Linked DNA regions of Homo sapiens: region 1 is linked to region 2. The links are contacts of gene promoters, found by promoter capture Hi-C in human tissues and cell types (Jung and others, 2019). All regions are on one chromosome and are shown on one strand. The core of a region is centred on a gene start or on the middle of the fragment in contact, and the rest is flanking DNA. Distances in the headings are between cores, read along the strand shown. Region 1 has its middle 58 kb from the start of LYZL4. Region 2 holds the start of CCK (cholecystokinin).

Region 1 (6,028 bases), core at 188-2,687, 85 kb after region 2:
CAGGCTGGTCTAGAACCCTTGGGCTCAAGCATCCCTACCACCTTGGGCTCCCAAAGTGCTGAGATTACAGACATGAGCCACCACACTTGGACTGATTTATTTCTAATCATAAAGCACTCAATGGTACAAAATTGTCTAGGAATAAAAGCCCAGGATGATGACAGAAACAGGGAGATGATAAATACTGACTCTTGGAGGAAGAAATGTTCTTCATTTTTCCTGTGTGGATAATCAACTGTGGGCCATCGCAGGAATGTACTCTTTTTACGGGTCTCCGGCCTCATGCCTTATGGATGAAGACTGTCGAATGTGCAGACTGCAGGGACTTTGCCTCCTCCACAGCAGAATCAACACTCAACTCAACCATCCCCTATAAACAGCTGTTGTCCCAGGCTTGGAAGATAGTAAAAATAAATCTGTGATAAGAAGCAGGCTTATCTTCAGGCCTCAGGTCCAAGGGTAAGGCTGAAGATAGAAGCCCCACCCTGTTATCGCTTGACACTCTAGAATCCCCTGGGTTTTTTAGCAAAAGATAACGCAACTGCTAAAACAACCATCACTCAGGAGACAAGGAGCCCCGGCCAGATTTTACCTGATACAAGCAGTCACTCAATATGTGCCTGTCAACACCCCCTCCCTTCCCCAGAGCCTTTCCTACCACATCCAGAGAAACATGGCTTATGGATTCCAAGGACTCTTCAGGGATAAGCCATCTATCTCTGGAGGCTTCCTTAGTGAAAGGGAACTTGGATTTCCTAAATCAGAGAATACTAGCCACTTTGATATTTCAGATCTGCCTCAAACAATCCCTGAAGGAACCATATGTGATTCCTGGAAAGCAACCAAATGTATTCTGAGGGGGCCATATGCCACAGGAAAATAAATCTGAAATACGGCATACTGTATTTTCTTCTTGGAGCTTCATAACCCACATTAGGATATTAAAGGTCCTGAGAAGTCCTGCACTTAAAGACCAAAACTTAAATACTCTTATGCAAAACAGCTTTTCCAGACTTATCTGAGCACAGAGCACAATTTTCCATAGAACGCTTCTTAACCCTCCGCTGATTTGGCCTTCTGCTAGTGTCTGACTGTATCTTTTATGTCTGGGTGGTTAGCATGAGGTTAGCACGTTGTTCCCTTTATCAGCGTTAGTAAATGAACTGAGGAGAGCAGCGCTGGCTGCTCCCAAGTGGGTCCTCAAACAACCCAAGCCAGCAAGAGTCAGACCCCTCACTGCTGAGGTGGGTGGTTTGCCCAGGACAGTCGGGTTTACACTCATTCTTCAAGCACAATGTATTTTTTATTTTTTATTTTTTTTGAGATGGGGTCTCGCTCTGTCACCCAGGCTGGAGTGCAGTGTTGCAATCTTGGCTCACTGCAACCTCTGCCTCCCGAGTTCAAGCGATTCTCCTGCCTCAGCCTCCCGAGTAGCTGGAACTACAGGCGCGTGCCACCATGCCCAGCCAATTTTTGTATCCTTTAAGTAGAGACAGGGTTTCACCATATTGGCCAGGCTGGTCTTGAACTCCTGGCCTCAAGTGATCCACCTGCCTCGGCCTCCCAAAATGCTGGGATTACAGGTGTGAGCCACCACGCCTGACTCAAGCACAATTAATACCTCCTTTTACTCTCTAAAGTGTTTTAGTTTGGACCATGAATTATATGGCACTCCTGCCACTGTGACCATCAGGAGAGCCCTTCCAAAGGCTGCAGACTGGTTGAGGCCCTCGTACTAGAACTGAGTGAGCAAATGAGCTCCAGAAGGTGTGAACCTATAAATGTGGGAGGCCCCAGAGGGGATCAGATGGCTCCACGGTGGGCAAGACATCATCCGGGAGAGAGCCAGCAGGGAGGAGGAGGGCAGGAAGCCAGGACAGTGCCTCAGGGTTGCTATTGGCAGCATTCTACTGCTACTTGGATTTTTTGAATTAAAAAATTGTACTTGAGAGCATAACACATTTTTCTCATGTTTGTGGTTTGGAAGATCATTCCTTTTCCCCTTTGATTTTTAGTAGAATTCTTGAAAATGTCTGCACCAGTTGTGCTGAAGGGAAAAACTGGTGCCATTGACCACAGTGTTTTAAGGGCAGAAGGACAGTCCTGGGCCTGGGCTGTGGAGCTGGGGATGTGTTGGACAATTCCCAAGGGGTGGATAATAGCTCGGGGGGAGAGGCAGGACAAGTGAAGTTCCGTGATAAGAGGGGGAACTGAAGCTGGACCTTGAAAGGTTGGGGAGGACTTGTGGAGATGAGAGTGGGGAAAGGTAGGTGTCCCAGACAGAGGGAGCAGCATAAGATACTGTATGAGTTTCCTATTGCTGCTGTAACAAATTATTGCAAACTCAGTGGCTTAAAGCAACCCAGATTTACTATCTCACAGTTCCGGGGGTCGGAAGTCTGAAATGGATCTCACTGGGCTAAATCAAAGTGTCAACAGGCTGTGTCCCCTTATGGAAGCTCTAGAATTGAGTTCTTGCCTTTTCTAGCTTCTAGAGGTAGCCCACGTTCCCTGGCTCAAGGCTCCCTTCCATCTTCAAAGCCAGCAACAGCTGGTCGAGTGTTTCTCACATTGCATCACACTGACTGACCACTGTCACCTCCGTCTCTCATGTAAGGATCTGGTGATTACACTGGGACCCCTGCTGCATAATCCAGGACACCCTCCCCACTTCAAGATCCTTAATTTGACCACATCTGCAGAATCGCCTTTGCCATGTGAAGTAACACATTCACAGGCTCCTGGGACTAGGGAGTGGATATCTTGGGTGGGGGGCATTATTTCGTCTACCACACATGCCAAGTAAGGACAGTGTCCTTGCAAAATAGGAAAAGTGAATAGTCCATTTGCCTGGATTGGAAGGAATGTATGAGGAAAGATGTGGAACCAGAAGTATAGACTGGAGATTCAGGAAGGGAGAGAAACGTTTCCTCGATTCTCTTCAGAGGGCCTAAGTGGCCATGGACCACATCCTTTGCTCAGGCTGCTATTGTGATGCCAGGGCGGCAGCCATGGGGCAAGGTCAGCAGACACCTCCATGAGGGCCTACATGGTGGAAAGGCACAGGCTTGTAAACTCAGGATCCTGAGGAGCTCAACTCATTAAAAGCAGATTCTCATCTGGGAATCACCTTTTCTCTTCAGTGGCAGTAATAGAACTCTTTTTTCAAATTAAATTCATATGTAAACAGGTTAAAGCAGAGCCATTCAGGCTAATACAGGGCAAAGGGTCCCCAGAACCACCTAGTCCTCTGCCCATAGAGGCTCCTGGGGCACATCCCCAGGATGCGGGACACAGCAGGAAAACCTGTAGCAAAGTTCAGAAGGCTGGGTGGTGAACAAGGACTCAGAAGGTCTAGGAGGAAATGAATGTTCTAAAGTGTGAGGGAATATGGACATAGTTGCTCACAGCAAGGTTCACACATGGGTCTTAGTTTGAGCTCCCCCAGAAGCTGACCCTCAGATAAGGATATGAGTGCAAGTAGTTTATTTGGGAAGTGGAAGGAACATGGGTAGGTGAAGAAGAAAGATATTTGAGCAAGGGAAGGCAGCTAGTAAGTGTGTGCTGTCACACCAGCTACTGCAATATGGAACTGGTGCTTAAGCTTAAGAGGAAACTCTGGGAAACAGTGAAAGGTAACAAAGCTGGGGAATTCACACCTGCCAGTCATGGCTTAAGGACTGGCCCAGATGGTAATTCCCTGGTTCTTCCCACTCCTTCCCTCCTGCAGGCAACAAAGATGGCTGATGGCAGTCAGGCTGACACCATGCGCTGAAATAGCAAGGGTCTCTGATGGGATATGGGTGAACACTTTCAGCTGCCTCAGGATGGTCTTATCAATGAGTCTGGTGACAGCAGAAGTGTTCATTCTGCCTAATTCTCCATCACCACCCATCAGCGTCCAGGTTTATGGCGAGACCACCCTGCATCCTGCTCTGCAGTCCTCAGACCAACACCGACTGGGGGGACAGTTGTCATTTTTGGCTGCCTATTCCCCATGGCCCTCACTACAGCACTGAGTTTTTCTATCACAAAATGATTTCTCCGTGTAGGGAGAAAGAAGCCTTCTTAGAGTCTCTGTCTCTTGGTGATCTGAAATATCCATCTCCATGCGATCAAAAGGCATCCAAGTCTGGGCACAGAGAGAAGAAGCATTCCTAATTCCAGAAGTTCCTGAGAGAACAGGGCCAGCTTTCTGGCAGAACAGAGATGTGAACTCAATGTCCTTTGGGAAATTAGCTTTAGTTCTGTACCAAGAGCCTATAATTATACTGACCAGGCTAGGGTACTTGAAATGATGATTAAGGCATGAATGAAAAATAAAAGATCCCTTTGTTTTTATGCTCATTATGCCTCTTTTTGATGACTATGCAAAAAAAAAAAATGCCTTTCAAACAATTAGCTTAATTAGCAGATTGTATTTTCATTCCCAGCTCCAAGCCAAGTGCCCAGCAGTTGATCATAGCTGGGTAAGGATGCACTGGCCCTGCCTACCTTCCTCCTCCCACCCACCTCCATGTTCCAGAACATGGCATTTGGGGTTGATCTTTACCTTGGCCCATCTCCCAGCAGCCCTTGGGCTGAGTTCATTGCAGTCTGTGGGCCCAGCTCTGCCTGGACAGCCCTGGCTCCTCAAGACAGGAGTCTGTTTGAGGGAGGGAAGGAATAGGTGGAAACCAAGCTTCCTAGTCTGATAATGCAATCCAGTGTAATCTGGCCCCAGCCTACATCCCAGGTCCACACACCCTTCCTAGAAGCCATCCCCACTCTCTGGCTCCATGTCTCTGGTCTGCTGTCCCTTCTCCCACCCTACTTGTGCATCCCAGATTCTACCTGTGCCTCAGGGTGGCTTGCCTCCTCTATGAGGTCTTTCTTGTTTCTTTTAAGGCCTTTTGCCTGTACTTCTCCCATTATCCTCACCACTTTAAAATGGATTCAATTAAAAAGGCAATAGATGAGCTTATTCTTAATAGAAAACATTAAGAAATGAATAATTATCTAGAAAAAAGTAGGAACTCCTCCACCACTGCCTCCCTACTCCCCACCCCTTCCCCGAGGAAATCACTGGGAACAGTCGACCACACAATGAATGTTATGCAGTGCTTGCTTCTTTCGTTTAATAGAATACATCTTGGACATTTTCCATATCCAGGACTTACAGGTCAGCTTAACTCTTTTCAGTGGTTGCTGAACTGCCCCATCTGTTACCAGCCCACTATGGATGGTCAAGGGAATTTGTAACTAATGGAGTTAGAGTGCAGGTGTTTGGGAATGAATTTACTCCTTTTCCTCCTCCTCCTTTCTTCTTCTTCACCCTCCTCCTCTTCCTCCTTACCTTCCTCCTCTTGTTCCTCACACTCCTCCTCCTCCTTTTCTCCCTCCTCCTTCTCTCCCACCTCCTCCTTTTCATCCTTTATACAAATTAGAGGTCTTAAGTCCATTCCTAAAATGTCATTCTCACTCCTTTGCATTCTGACTTTCTTCTCACTCTAAAATATATATGCATACAAATATTCTAATTCTGAAATATTTTTAAAATATGGACAAGTGTAGAGAATCATATAAAACATCTACATGCACATTTAACAAGCAGTAATATTTTGAAATACAGGCATATCTCATTTTATTGAGCTTTGCTTTATTTTGCTTTTCAAATACTGTGTTTTTCACAAATTGAAGGTTTCCAGCAACTCTGTGCCAAGAAAGTCTATTGGTCTCATTTTTCCAACAGCATGTGCTCACTTTGTGTCTCTATGTCACATTTTGGTAATTCTCACAATATTTCAAACTTTTTATTATTATATGTGTTATGATGATTTATGATCAGTGATCTCTGAAGTTACTATTGTAATTGTTTAGGGGCACCATGAACCACACCCATAGAAGACAGTGAACTTAACAAATGTTGTCTGTGTTCTGACTGCTCCACCAACCAGCCATTCTCCAATCTTTCTCTCCTCTGGCCTCCCTATTCCCTGATTCACAACAATATTGAAATGAGACCAATTAATAACCCTACTATAGCTTG
Region 2 (6,433 bases), core at 2,764-5,263:
AGGCAACACACCTACCACATCCCTTCCAGCAGTGTTTGCTAAGTTCTTTTTTTTTTTTTTTTTTTTTTTAGACAGTTTCACTCTTGTTGCTCAGGCCAGAGTGCAATGGCACAATCTCGGCTCACTGCAACCTCCACCTCCCGAGTTCAAGCTACTCTCCTGCTTCAGCCTCCCGTGTAGCTGGGATTACAAGCATGTGCCACCATGCCCAGCTAATTTTGTATTTTTAGTAGAGATGGGGTTTCACCATGTTGGTCAGGCTGGTCTCGAACTCCTGACCTCATGTGATCCACCTGCCTCAGCCCCCCAAAGTGCTGGGATTACAGGTGTGAGCCACTGCTCCTGGCCTGCTGAATTCTTTTAATGTCCAGCTGTGTTTGTACTGTTCAGCACACTGCTCCACAGCCGGTGTTCATCATTAGTGTCACTGGGGATAAAGTTGGCAGAAAAAAGCTGCCCCAATCCAAAGCATGATTCCTATGGGTCACAAGAGATGAATGGGCCTCCCTCTGAATCACACAAAGAATTGGAAGGAGCTTAGGGGAAAGCTAGCCTCAGGTCAGAATTGCCTGCATGCCACTCGGCTAGTGAGCTGCTGAATCACCTTATTCCTGGAGAAAGACTTTGATGCTGAGAAAACTGACTTGCTCAGCTCTTGCTACAACTGTGACCATCTCTGCAACAGTAAAGTAAAAACAAATACCTCTCTTGTTGGGTAATAATTTGTAAGTCATTGCAAGGAGAACACAAAACTGCTGCTGATTCTTTCCTTCTGTTACATACTTTGGTGGAAATGGACACATTGTCACTGCTTTTTTAAACTGTTGTAGCCAGATCTCAGGCATTCTCAGCATTGACCCCTTCCTGCTAGAGGATTTCCAAGGGTTGGTATCTGGGTGGCTCCAAGGTCCTTTGCGTTTTCAGTAGAGGGTATTCACTGTATCTAGGAACCCTTTCCTAGGCTTCAATAATTATCTTTTAATGGCTTGGTAAAATGGTGTTGAACTTAATCAGCAACACTGCTAAAAATTAGTTCAAAGAAAGCTTTTCAAGAAGGTTCCCCTTACTTATAAATTAAGTCCTCCATACCCCTTCTCAGATTGCTACAAAGGACCGCCAGAAATCATGTTGCTTGTTTCCTACCGAGAGAGGTCATCCCCATCAGGCTAGCGCTAGAGAAGAGGGTCAGCATCGGGAGCCTGGGAACAAGGGCAGAAGTGAGGGATGGGGAGGCAGCATTCTTACCTTTCCGGGCCTGCTGGATGTATCTTGCCAGCAGGGCGCCCAGGTGCGCTCGGGACTCGCCATCCGTTCTCTGCGATACCCTCAGCTGCCTACGGGGCGCCTCCTCTGCCCGCTGCAGCCCGGAGCCCGCGGGATCTGCGGGAGGCACCGGCTGCGTCAGGGCGCCAGCCGCCAGTACCGCCATCAGCACGCACAGGCACACGCCGCTGTTCATGGCTGTAGCGAGCAAAGGAGGAGGGCGCGTTAACTGAAAGGCTGGGCAACAGAGCTCCTGCGGCGGGCCGGGCACCCAGAAGCGGGCTTAGGACAAACACAGGTGCTCCAGACCCGCCAGGCCGCCGCAAGCACGAGGGCTCGCCAAGCGCTGACCCCAGCCGAGTGCCATGGCGCGCGCCCCCGGGCGCACCTGGCTGGTCTTTGGGAACTCCTCACCCAGCGCCAAGGGGCAGAGACCCTGTTTTCTGCCGTGTTGAGCAGAAGGAATGTTTTTGCTTTCCTAAAGTTTGAGGAAGTGTTTGCAGAGTGCCTCTCTTCTAACCGAAAGAAGAAAAATAAAACCCCACGAGATTAAAAATAGTGTGAAAAAAATATCCTAAAGGGAAGACTCCGTGGGAGAAATGAGAACCCTGGGGAAAGCACTTTTCCAGATAGCTAACAAGCTTTCAATATGGAAATACAGTAAATGATGAAAAAGAGAAGCACAGTTTAAAATGTAGGAGCAATAAATAAAGCCGTATTTATAAAGTTTTTCTCAAAGTGTACGTGGGAAATGGCAATAAGCCACTACGCAGAACATAGGCAGGTTTTAAAATCAGAAATATGTGCCCAGCGCTCAGGCTTCGAAAGCCCCGTGCATTTTAGATCGCTAGTGGATAAAACACCCTCAAGTTTCTATCCGTAAAGCCTCGAAATTTTCTGCAGTATTTAGAAAATGAATTTAAATCTTAAAACCCTCTAATATTTTATTAGAAAAGATTGCAAAGTCCCCCGCACCGCTGTGTAACAGCTAGCAAACTCAATCTGCATGCGAATCTTAGCGAATGGGTAGTTCATCCCTTAATGATGCTGGCGTATGAAAGGCTCTAAAGCAGCTCTACCCACCCAGACCTCACTTTTAGACCCAGAGCCGTTATTTCTGACTTCAAGAAATGTCTTTCGAGCTCTCGGAGGGAAGACACAGAAAATAGAAAAGCATAATGGAAATGGGCACAAAGCTGAAGACAGCATCCTTCAAAGACACACGACACTTGGATCCCCCGCTGACGAACCGAGGGACCTACCTTTTGGATTAGGACGCAGCTGGCTTGGCGTTTCCAACCGGAGCAGCCCGGCAGCTGAGCCAAGTTCAGGGAGGACCAGCGGGCGGCTGTCTCTTAAATAGCCCCACCCGGCGGCGTCGGCCAGTCATGTATTTACCCAACGCTGACGCAGACTGGCAGTAACACGTGCTCAGAGGGCGGCCACTGGGGCGACAACCGGTTGAAGTGGCTCCTGGGAGAGAGGGGGAGGTGGTCTAGTGGGGTGGAGTTAATCCCTCCCACGCGCGGTGCCGGGTGTCCGCCCCCTCTGGGTCCGAGAAGCTTCCGCCCAACCCTTTCCAGGTGCCGCTCCCCTGCGCATTCCAGAGCAGTACTCTCCAAGGTGGGAAACCTAGGAGTTTGGAGTCTCCTCCGGGATGGAGAAGCTGCCGCTAGCTTAGTTCGCTTTGGGGACCGGAGGGGCTAGAAAGGAAACTGGGGGCGGGGGTGGGGGGTGGACACTGGGCAGGACTGAGCATCAGCAAGGCGTGATTCTGAAAGGGAGGGGGCGTCGGCCCCCTACCCCGGAGCGTCCGAGGCGCTGGTCTTCATACCTGTGTCGGCTCTTTCGAAGGAGAGAGGAGGAGTCGGGGTCTTCACTTTCTTCTCAGCCGCATTAAAAGCCCTCGCAGTTCTCCAGGTTTCCGAGGGCCAGTGTTCTGGGTCAGTGAAAGGGCTCTGGCCACAGCTGGCTCTTGGTGTCCTGGGCCTCTCTTGACGCAGCTGTAAAATGCGGATGACACCATCTGGTTTTGCTCAGAGGAATCCGGTTTGGGAAAGGGATGTGTTTTCTTCCCGGGCCAAGTTACCACCACCCGCGGCGCCCACTGTTCCCCGTTGTCGACAAGCGGCGCCAGCGAGGGTCCTGGGGAACTTGACCACCGCACCCCCGCAAGCTCGGGTAGACCACGGCATCCGCCCCTCGCACCTTTCCTGAGGGCCCACACACTCACACCCCCAGGACAGTACCTTCCAGAACTCAGCTGCGCAGCCTGGAGGTGAGGACCTCACCCCTAGTCAGTCACCCGTCCGGTGGAGGGAAGGGAGGCACCGAGGCTGCCGTGCGCCTTTCCCTGCACGCGGTTACTCTCCCGGCTCCGGAGCGGGCCGACCTGGAGCCCCTCAGTGCGCTCTGGTCGTCTACACCCTGAAACCCTTTGAGTTCGAGTCCGCTTGCTGGTGCTTGAGTTCGCCGCGTCCCTGCAAAGGCACTGCCAACCCCATTTCACAGACCGCAAACCGAGGCGCGAGGAAGAGCAGCGCCTTGCCAAGGCTCCACAACACGCCCCTCGCCCTCTCCGTGCACCGAGGCCGCCCAGCCTGGGACCTGGAGATCACCAGGCCTTGAACCTTGGGACCTCAACTCCTCTCCCTTTCTTTCCCCCACCCGTCTTAGATGCAAGGAGAAAGATTTAGAAGCGCTTATTTTAAAATCGGAATCCGTATTCCGCTCTGGAATTCCCTCTGGAATGGAGGGACTGTGGCAACGCCAGTGTGAGGGTGGAGTGGGCGAGGCGGGGTGGGGGGGTTGGGGGGGCGGCCCAGAGACGCCTCCGGTTGCTGCTCCACTTTCTAATCCTGAGAGGCAGCTGCGTTTCTGCAACCTATGGGCAACATGTTTGAAAGAGCTGAAGCTGATTAAATGCTTTCCAGTGGTTTCGCCACGAGCCTGCTAAGGTTTGTGTAGTTCAGTTGCGAAAAAGAGTCTTATTTGTGATTGTGGCAAGACATGTCTGGAAACATAAACTTGTTATCGAAATACCCCCAGAGCTTCTAATTCAGTAGGTCTGAGGAAGGGCCCAAGAATCCGAATTCCTTCCTTCCTTCCTTCCTTCCTTCCTTCCTTCCTTCCTTCCTTTCTTCCTCCTTCCCTCCTTCCCTCCCTCCCTCCCTTCCTTCCTCCCTCCCTCCCTCCCTTCCTCCCTCCTTCCCTCCCTCTCTCCCCTTCCCTCTTTCCCTCTCTCCCTTCCTTCCTTCCTTCCTTCCTTCCTTCCTTCCTTCCTTCCCTCCCTCCTTCCTTCCTTCCTTCCCCCCTCCCTCCCTCCGTCTCTCCTTCTCCCTCTTTCCCTCTTTCTCTCTCTCTTTCTTTCTTTCTTCTTTATTTCTTTCTTTCTTTCTTCATTTCCTTCCTTCCTTCCTTCCTTCCTTCCTTCCTTCCTTCCTTCCTTCCTTCCTTTCCTTGCCTTTCCTTCTTTGAGACAGAGTCTCACTCTGTCGCCCAGGCTGGAGTACAGTGGCATGATCTCGGCTCACTGCAACCTCTGCCTCCCAGGTTCAAACGATTCTCCTGCCTCAGCCTCCCCAGCGGCTGGGATTACAGGCATGTGCAGCCATGCCTGGCTAATTTTTATATTTTTAGTAGAGACAAGGGTTCACCATGTTGGCTAGGTTGGTCTCGAACTTCTGACCTCAGGTGATCTACCCACCTTGGCCTCCCAAAATGCTGGGACTACAGGCGTGAGCCACCACGCCCCACCAAGAATCTACATTTCTAACAAGTTCCCAGGCCATACTGAAAATGCTAGTCCGCCAAGCACACTTTGAGATCATTTCTATAGAAATTCCCTACCTTATACCAGTTACTCAACTCCTGGCCTTGATCCATTTAATTCATGTTTATTCAACACTTACTTTGTGCCAGGCCCCAGGGATTCAGTATGAACAAGAGCTGACAATACAATAGGGGAGCTGAAGCAAACAAGTGGACAAACACTTCTCAACAATTCTGATATTTGGGGACTATGGAGTGGAGATGGTAGGAGGTAATCTTGGAGAAATGTTTTGGTGAGGGGAGCTAGGTGGTAATATGGAAGATGCCCAAAAGGCAGAGGGACTGGAAGGGGAGGGCTGGATAGGAGGCCCTCGGGGATGGGCAAGCAGGAACAATCAAGGTAGATTTGTTTTAGAATAATAAGCCATTATGAAACCCATTAATTATTAGGAAACATAATAAACATTATGCAAGTCATAAGTGTTCATCAGAGAACATTCAGAAAACAAAAGTAGAGAAAAGAAGAAAAATTCCAGCCTCCCAGGGAACAACCTGTTGCTGCTCAGGAAACTGGTAGAGGGAACCGGACTTGGTGACTGAGACTGACCTTGAGTTTCCAGGCTGGGAGACAAGGGTGGGTGGTAGAGTATTATCCAAGACAGGGAATTCAGAAGGAAAAGCAGGCTTGGAGTGTGGCCGTGGTGGTAGTGGGCCAGTGGGGAGCGGGTAATGAGTCCAGTATGGGATTGGTTGATCGTTTGTGCATTGACAGTCTAGGAGGAGTTTGGGAGCCTTTGTCCTGAGCAGAGAGACACTGGAGGGGTGGACCCAGAGTCTGGCATGTGGGTGGTGGCTGCCAGCCTGGGAGTTATAGGGAGAGTTGAGGAAGGCAGCTAGCAATGGGTGGCAGGGTGCCTCTAGACAGACCGCTGAGGAGTGACAGCGTGAAGGAGTGGGTGGAGGAAAAAGAGCTGGTACAGAACCAGACAAGTGGGCCAAGGAGGCCAGCGTGGAAATGCCAGTGCAGAGCCAGAGGTGACAGGGACCATCAGAAGCTGAAGAAGGGCTTGTGCATGGGCCTTTCTCATTTACGATCAAGAGAGCTGCTTGCCTCTTTATTGTAAAATAAAGCAGTTGTAGCCGCTTGTCTCTCAGGAGTGGAAATTCTGAGCAGGAAATGTGTGATAGAAGAGCTGCTAGGAAAATAGAAAGACATAAGGGATCTGAACTCCTTGGCCATAGTCATGATTTTTCCTTCTTACAGGGTCAACAGGTACTAATTATTCTGACTATGGTTCCTAAGCAAGTTAGGCCTGGAGCCGACACTATTCCTGTAATCCAGATGCATATCCGCATTAAAGATAATCCATTTGTTCACTTAAAAAAATGGGCTTGATGT

Evidence for each region. Contacts are between HindIII fragments. The study calls those that stand out against the background at their distance.
Region 1: a contact is called between a fragment that was not itself captured here and the fragment with the promoter of CCK in region 2, in 2 of the 25 tissues and cell types used here (H1 embryonic stem cells and pancreas).

The regions. Positions count from the first base shown.
Region 1 is chr3:42,349,459-42,355,486 of GRCh38, forward strand. No RefSeq gene overlaps it. Among named protein-coding and RNA genes, the nearest start is that of LYZL4, 58 kb to the right of the region's middle. The HindIII fragment of the contact is 5,410 bases long and covers 1-4,142 here.
Region 2 is chr3:42,262,172-42,268,604 of GRCh38, forward strand. It overlaps CCK (cholecystokinin), which reads right to left and starts at 4,014. Exons shown (of 5, transcript NM_000729.6): 1 at 3,513-4,014; 2 at 3,098-3,266; 3 at 2,526-2,736; 4 at 1,246-1,461. The coding sequence starts at 1,459. The HindIII fragment of the contact is 4,994 bases long and covers 2,365-6,433 here.